2 separate regions of the Homo sapiens genome follow, and region 1 is linked to region 2. Evidence: promoter capture Hi-C in human tissues and cell types (Jung and others, 2019). All regions are on one chromosome and are shown on one strand. The core of a region is centred on a gene start or on the middle of the fragment in contact, and the rest is flanking DNA. Distances in the headings are between cores, read along the strand shown. Region 1 overlaps DAGLA (diacylglycerol lipase alpha). Region 2 holds the start of LRRC10B (leucine rich repeat containing 10B).

The links. The method cuts DNA at HindIII sites, captures the fragments that hold promoters and counts their contacts. A contact is called where the count stands out against the background at its distance.
Region 1: a contact is called between a fragment that was not itself captured here and the fragment with the promoter of LRRC10B in region 2, in 1 of the 25 tissues and cell types used here (bladder).

The regions. Positions count from the first base shown.
Region 1 is chr11:61,702,193-61,706,049 of GRCh38, reverse strand. The region is part of intron 1 of DAGLA (diacylglycerol lipase alpha); the gene reads right to left. Among named protein-coding and RNA genes, the nearest start is that of DAGLA, 24 kb to the right of the region's middle. The HindIII fragment of the contact is 5,242 bases long and covers 1-3,857 here.
Region 2 is chr11:61,505,819-61,510,019 of GRCh38, reverse strand. It overlaps LRRC10B (leucine rich repeat containing 10B), which reads right to left and starts at 1,271. Exons shown (of 1, transcript NM_001145077.2): 1 at 1-1,271. The coding sequence starts at 1,021. The coding sequence ends at 143. MIR4488 (microRNA 4488) reads right to left here and starts at 1,424; the gene lies at 1,363-1,424. It overlaps LOC105369329 (a long non-coding RNA gene), which reads right to left. Exons shown (of 3, transcript NR_188527.1): 3 at 3,371-4,201. The HindIII fragment of the contact is 12,437 bases long and covers 1-4,201 here.

The DNA of each region.
Region 1 (3,857 bases), core at 582-3,081, 200 kb before region 2:
CCATTTGGTAGCACGCTTCTGAGTGAGCCCTTCCCTCCTCCAGAGATCCCAGACAGGCCCAGGCCTCAAACCCCAGGCTGGGCTGGCCCAGGAGCAAGGACAGGAGGTGGTCCTGGCCTCGGCAGGTGTGAAGACACCAACACCCACAGATGGCCAGGGCTTGGTTCCAGAGTCCCTGGTTTAGGGCAGGGGCAGGCTCTCAGAGTAGAAAAGGCTGGAAACAGCCCTGAGGGTGGGCCCTGGGTGGTGTGAACACAGGTGAAATCTGGTTAAAGTCAAGTTAGTGCATGCAGCCATTCTCCATCCATCCACAAATCACCAGAGTGCCTACTATGTGCCAGGGATTGGGTGGATGGTGACAAAAGCCGACATGGTGCCAGCCCTTATGGAGCCTGCAGACCAGAAGGAAAGAAACTTCAAGTGAACCTTCACATACAACAAAGAAAAATCCTCTGACACGTGCTCAGGCGGGGAGGCTGCCTATAGAACTAGGAGCTGGAGCTGTTTCTGAAGGACTAGCAGAGGGAAGCAACCACAGGAGAGAGCAGAGCGGAACAAGCACTGGAGGATACCCTCGGCAGCAGGGCCTGGATGTGAGGACAGTGGAGGCCTGGAGGATGGAGAAAAGGCCAGAGTCAGGCCAGCAGAGAGGAGGCCAAAGCAGGCAGGCTGGCAGGGCCAGGCCCTGGACTCTGAGCCTGGGAATGACAAGCCAAGGTGGGTGCGAGGGTGAAGAGAAGTGGGTGGCCCAGATGGAAATTCAGCAGACAAAATGGGGACAGACAGGGCAGGTATTAAGGATGTTTACTGCTCGCTGTAACACTGGCGCTGTCAAAGACGACCCCAGCTGTCTGGCCCGTGCAATTGGGCGGGCAGAGGGGGCACTGGATCCCAGAGGAACGCCTTGAGAACGGAGGCCTGGGGCTGCCCATCCCACCCTCAGAGCAACAGCTCCGGGAGTCAGCCCTGGGCTCTGTGAACACAGGTGAAGTCTGTGTCCTCCCCCTCCCCCCAGTCTCAGCTCAGCCCAGTCCCGAGCTCAGGCGAGCCCGGGCACGGCAGGTCAGGATGTCAGTCCAGGAGTCCCACTCAGGAGCAGTCAGTGGGCTCTGCTCCCACCGCTGAGGGTTCCCAATCATGTGCTTGAGGGGGTTTGAGGCATTTCTCCTGAACATTCAGCTCCCCACTCTTCCTGCCATCCGGGCCCGACCATGAATAGGACTACGCAGAGGAGCTCTCAGAGTTAATTCAACCTACTACAGGAGGGGAATGGAAAGAGGGTCTCTGTATGCCAGTCATCCACTCTCCCAACCACATGTTGGGGCTCAGAAAATGGTACCCCAAAGTGAACGCCTCACAAACAGCCTCAGAAGCAAAGCTTTTCTCTGAACATCTCCTGCCTTCCTGTCTCTATCCCTTACTCTCCCGACACAAACCACAGAAACTAGAATTCTCTTCCCCACCCCTCACTCTCCCCAGAGGCAAGCCATAGAAACTAGAATTCCTCTTTCCCAAGGCAGGTCACAGAAACCAGAACTCCTTTCCCCTAAAGCCACCCATAAAACCTAAAAGTATTAGCCTTCTCCTGCCTTTCTGCGTAAGAGCTGGCCATAAAGAAATCCTTTGGTCGGGCAGGGCACAGTGGCTCACGCCTGTAATCCCAGCACTTTGGGAGGCTGAGGCAGGCAGATCACCTGAGGTCAGGAGTTCGAGACCAGCCTGGCCAACATGGTGAAACCCCGTCTCTATCAAAAACATAAAAAATTAGCTGGGCATGGTGGCACGCGCCTGTAATCCCAGCTGCTTGGGAGGCTGAGGCAGGAGAATCTGTTGAACCCGGGAGGCAGAGGTGCCATGAGCCGAGATCGTGCCATTGCACTCCAGCCTGGGTGACAGAGTGAGACTCCATCTCAAAAAAAAAAAAAAAAGAAATTCTCTGACCTACTTTGTTTGATAGTAGATCATAAGACCCCCACTCAGAATCCTGCCCCATACCCTGAAGGAAGGAATGCAGCACAGAGAGGCCAAGAAGGATCTGAGAGCAGGCCTTGCTGGGTTTCCCCACTCAGTCTGCTCCCATGGGGTCTTACTCTTTGTGTCCAATCATAGCTCTTCATAGTTGCCCATTCCTCCTCAAACTTAAGCATAAAAATGGAGTTTCCCTGGATCTTTGGATCTTCATTCTGAAGGCTCCCATGTCACGTAAAACTTTGATTAAATACATTTGTTATGCTTTCCTCTTGTTAACCTGTCTTTTGTTACAGGAGTGTTGCCTATGACCCTCATGATGGGGAGAAAAGGGATCACCCCATAGCTGCACCTACAATCCATTCATCCATCCATCCATCCATCCATCCATCCATCCATCCATTCCTCCATCCTCCATCTACCCACTCACCATTTCCAGTCATTCTACACTGTTCATCACACTTAGAAAGCCCTCTCCCTCTTACGTTGGCCTGCCAGCCCTGTGGCCTGGCCTCTGCCTGCCCTCACCAGCCTCCCAGGCACCCTGGCCTTCTCTCTGTTCTTGCAACAGGCCAGGCGTGCCGAACGCCTTTGTCCTCACTCCTCCTCTAGCCTGGAGAGAACCCCAACCCCACCCCCACCCCCAGAGCTTTGCGTGGCTGGCTCCCTCCTGTCATTCAGCTCCTAGCTCAAACATCCCCTCCTGGGACCTGCCTGCCAAATCTTAGGTACCCCAAGCGCCCCCATCATAGGACTCAGTTTTCCTATCAGCACTTCTCACCATCTAAAGTTCTGGTGAATGTGTTTACCATCTGGCTCCCTCCACCAGGGTGTGGCTTCTCAGGGGAGGGGTCTCGCCTGTTTTCTTCCTTGCCAGGTTCCCTGCACTGAGTAAAGGTTTGGCAGGTTGGGGGAGCTCACCACGTCCCTGCTGCCTGAAAGAGAAACCATTTCGGAGCACGGCCTGAGAAGGACAGAAACAGGAGAACGTAGGAGCCACAGCAGAGCTGCACCCAGAACCCAGGGCTCCTGACTCCCAGCCCTGGCCTCTTTCCACACCATCTGCTGGCCATGCCTGGGATCCAAAGCCCTATCCTGAACTGCCCACATATGCAACTTCACTGGCTACCAACGACCACGCTGTGGGCGAGGCAGGGAGGAAATGTGGCATCTTCATTTTACTGATGAGGCAACTGTGGCAGGAAGGGGCTGTGGGTGATTTGCCTGTGGTAATGCAGTGAGTGGTCCTGCTACTGGAGGGCTCCCTAGCATTGACAAGCCTGGCTTCCCTCTACCTCCCTATGCATCTGGGGCCGTGTGACTTGCGTCCACCTCTGTACAGCATCCTGTGGGAGGGAGGGCGCACCTCCAGGAAAGAGCACAGAAAGCTACGTTCTCAGGATGCAGCCAGGAGACTGAAGCCCTCTCCCAACCGGGGGCCCAGAGGGCACCTCAGCCATGGCCTGGCTATAAGTGAGAAGGGGAAGGACCTGGGGAAATGACTTCTCTTCTAAGAGACTCAGTGTCTTCATCTGGAGGATGAGGGGGTTGACCAGATGATCTCTAATTTCCCTAGGATCCACTTTTACCCCCATCCCCCAATGCTCAGTTTATAAGGGTCTGCAGCCTCTGGCTCAGGAATATAATCCCACAGAAGACTCGGAGCCTTAAGGTGCTATCATCTTTCTCACCCACTTTCTTCTGGGCCCCAACATTGTCCTGGAGGTAGAGAGGCCAGGAATTTGCACACCATGGCCCAGTGCTTTGATGATCCCCACTTTTGAAATCTGTCAGAACTAAGTTCGAAACCTAACATGTTCAGCTTGTAATTATCAGAGTTAAAGACAGAGAGAGAGAGAAAGAGAGAGAGAACCTAACATGGGCTAGCT
Region 2 (4,201 bases), core at 22-2,521:
CTGCCTGTGCCCGGCAACTCGCCAAAAGTAGCCGTTCCATTGACCTAAGTAGGGACCCACCAGTCCCGCAGGCCTAACCAGCCAAAGCTTCCTAGAGCCCCTCCTCTCAGAGTGGCTGAAGCCCATCAGCCAGAACATAGGCTCAGGTGCCCAGTCCTGGAGCGGCTTCCAGGGCGCGGAAGCTGCCCCCGGGGGCGCCCAGAGCCCGGGAACCAGCGCCGCCTATGAGCAGGTCTTCCTCCTCCTCATCCTCAAAGGCCCGCGCTGGGCGCCGGGGCGGAGGCCGGGGCGTGGGCTCGTCGCGCTCCGCCATGCGCTCGACGGCGCCCTCGCCCACGAGGAACACGGTGTCCGCGACGCGCGGGGGCCCGGTGACGGGGTTGTGGTCGTAGGAGAAGACGCGCAGCGCGCGCAGCGGGTGCAGGTCGGGGAAGCCGCCCAGGCGGTTGCGGTCGAGGTCGAGGATGTGCAGGCGGCCCATGCGCAGCAGCGCGGGCGGGAACTCCTCGAAGCGGTTGCCGTAGAGCCAGAGGCCGCGCAAGCCCGTCATGCGCGGCAGCTCGGCCGGCAGCGCGCGCAGCCGGTTGTCGCCCATCTGGAGCGACTGCAGCGCCACCAGGCGCAGCAGCGGCCGCGGGAAGCGCCGCAAGAAGTTGCCCTCGATCCAGAGGCAGCGCAGGCTCTGCAACTGCGCGAAGTCGGCGGGCAGCGCCAGCAGCCGGTTGCCGCCCAGATAGAGGCGCGTGAGGCGCGGCAGGCGGCACAGGCCGTCAGGCAGTCGCTCGAGCTTGTTGAAGTCCAGCGCCAGGATGCGCAGCTCGCGCAGCTCCTCGATCTCCTCCGGCAGCTCGCGCAGCCCCGTGCCGCTCACATACAGCTTCTGCAGGCGGCTCAGCGCGCACACTGCGCTGGGCAGCCGCCGCAACCGCCGCCCGCTCAGCTCCAGCTGCTGGTCGCCGCTGCGCAGCTGCTCCTCTGCGTCCGACGGCAGCTCATCCGGCGTGGACTCGGCGATGCCCATGGTCACGGGCCCCGGCCGGGGCCGCCGCCACTGCCACCGCCAGGCATCGCCCCGCCCCGGCCGCCCCCCAGCCGCCCCGACGGTGCCGGAGCCGCGCCGGCCCCCGGGCCCCCCGCCCCGGCCTTCCCCCGCGCCGGGAGGGGGGCCGTGCGGGGCCGGGAGGAGGCACCCACTTGGGGCACCGCCGCCGCGCGCCGCGCTCCACCGCCCGCCCTCGGGCCTCCCCCGTTGCCTCCGCCGGAGGCCGACTGGCTAGGGTTCGCGCTGACTCGCAGCTTAGCGACCCGTCGCCCTGGCAACCCCGACGCGCGTGCGGCTGCCAATGAGGCGGAGGGAGGGCGGGGCGGGGCGGGGCCAAGGCGCCACCCTAGTGGGGTCCCAGCGCCGGAGCCCGCCCCCTACCTGCCCATCCAGCCCACCGCGGAGCAAGCACAAGCCGAGAGATTCCCCGCCCCGGCCAAGCCTGGCACTGAGACCCGACGCCCGACGCTGTTTGGTGTGCGGTTGTGTGCGCCCCAGAGCCGCGGGTCCAAGAAGGCGAAGGAAACGCTGGCGGTGGATCAAAGACTCTGGACTAGAGGCTCACAAGGAGGGGCTGAGGGGCGCGGTCACTGCGAGCCATTCACGTCCAGCGGCGTGCGGCCGGCCTACCTGCTGGGATCACTTCAGTGTAGTAACTCGAAACAGTGTTACTGTCCGGCCCTTTTCACATCTGCTGGTTTTACCGGGCCCCAGGGCTTGGCTCCGCCCCGCCTAATTGCCCTACAGCTTCCTCATTGCTACACTCACACCCCTCTCTCCTGCCAGGATCCCTCCACCGACGCTCAAAGTCTGTGTGTGGCTGCGGTGGACAGAGGACTGGGACACGTGAACGCCTTTGAGCCACCAATCATGGCCACTCTCATTCCATGACTCTTCTTCCTTCGCCTGCTACCACCAGCAGCAGTTCCCCCCTGCCTTCTCCCCCCACCTCCCATCCGGAGCCCTCCTGCGGGAGCTCCTGGCAGAAAAGCACTGGCTGTCACTGGCTTCGAGCCCACGTGTGCCCAGCACTATGCTGAAAGCATTGCGTTGAGTCCTTGGCACAGCCTATGAGGTAGACACCCTCATCACCCCGATTTTAAAGATGGAGAAACTGAGGGTCAAAGAGACATGACTTGAGCTGGGTCAGTCTGAGCTGAGTGAAGTGCCCAAGGTCACCCAGCTGATGAGCAGCTGGATTCGAAGCCAGGTAGTGTGACTCCAGAGCCTGTGTTCCTAACCATAAACCATACCGATAGATGGAAACAAGGTTCACTCCACCTCCAGCAATGAATTTTCTCACAACAGAGCCTCTGATTCTCTGGACAAAGCTACAAAGACAGCACTATAATCCCACATGAAAGATGAGAGAAGTGGCCTCGCGGGGATTAGGCACCCTGCTTACGGTCACACAATGCATAGAGGTTGCAGCCCGGGAGCCAAATTTTCGGGCTCCAAGCCTCCTGCCTCCTGCCTTCTCTTGAACCCGGCTGGTGTGACCCATGTAACTGGCTGAGTGGACTGACTTCAGGAGAGCACGCTGCCCTTTGGCCCACCCCCATTGCCATCCCCACTGCAGGGGAAGGGGGATGGAAGACAGCCCAAGGGCAGAGAGCAGTTGCCAATGCAACGGGAGGAAGGGAACCATCCCCACTGGAAAGTAAGCTGCCCAGCCAGGGAGGTTTGGGCATCTCCTTCCCTGCTGGCACAGGCTCTAGAGCATACAGTAGACATTCCATGCAAATTTTTATTTATTTATTTATTTATTTATTTATTTATTTATTTATTTAGAGACAGAGTTTTGCTCTTGTTGCATAGGTTGGAGTGCAATGGCGTGATCTTGGCTCACTGCAACCTCCGCCTCGCCTCCTGGGTTCAAGCGATTCTCTTGCCTCAGCCTCCCAAGTAGCTGAGATTACAGGTGCCCACCACCACGCCCAGCTAATTTTTGTATTTTAGAAGAGACAGGGGTTCACCATGTTGGTCAGGCTGGTCTCGAACTCCTGATCTCAGGTGATCCACCTGCCTCAGCCTCCCAAAGTGCTGGAATTATAGGCATGAGCCACTGCGCCTTGCTGAAAAAAACTTAACAAAAAAAGTGGAGGCAAACATTGCATACAGTGAAATGCATAGATCGTAAGTGTCTTCTTGGATGCGTTTTGACAAATGTACACACCCCTGTCCCATTTCCATCAACCCAAGAGTTCTCTCAAGCCTCTTGCGGTCAATCCCCACCTCACAGAGGCAACTATGATCCTGACCTCTATCCTTATGGATCAGTTTTCCCTGTTCTTGAATTTCACACAAATGAAATTATTCAGCACATGCTTTTTTTCAGATAATATATATTTGTTGGATACATGAATGAAAGGACAGAGCAATAGCAATTCTAATATGGCAAGAGGTGTTAGGGGGCGGACAGATGATGGGGGGACACAGAGGCAGATGTTGCTCTGAGCCACGAACCAGCCATGCACCCCCATCCTGGGAGAGACTGGCAAAACGAAAGCAGGAATCCAGGCCAAGGTAGAGGACCCAGGTGGAACCCAGACACCAGACCTAGGGTATAGGAGTCTCAGCCCCAACCGGAGGGGCTTCAGGCTCCTCCCAGATGTCACTTAAGTTCCAATCCAGCTCTCTCCCTTCTACTCATTCGGGAGGACTTCTTGGAAGAGGTAAGTCTCTCAGAGACCAGAAAGGTAGGGAATACCCAGCCAGGCTAATGGGATGAGGATGAGTCCCTCCCCCCACCCCCAAGCAGTTTGAGGGAACATTGGCTGTGGAGGAGGAGGCTCAGCAGCCCAGCCTCGCCACATGCTCAGGCTGGCACCCAGCGCCAGGCTGCCCTCTTGGGCTCCATCAGCACAGGCAGCACCACATGAGCCCACATGAGCCTCTCCACCCCGGCACCAGCCTGGCAGAGCTTCCTGGGGCCGAGAGCATGGAGGACCAGCCCTCTTCTTTCTCAGAGTCTTTTTCTTGCTCTCGGCAGATCCTGTACCTTCACCTCCCACCAGGCCCTTCTCAGTGGGTAAAGGTAAAATGTGCTGGCGTTCCAGGCCCACGCAGGCTGGCAGTGGGGCAATCATCATGATGAATCACGCTGGCACTGCAGGCACCCGGTCCTTGTTGAGGCGTAACTAATGAATTAGCTTCACC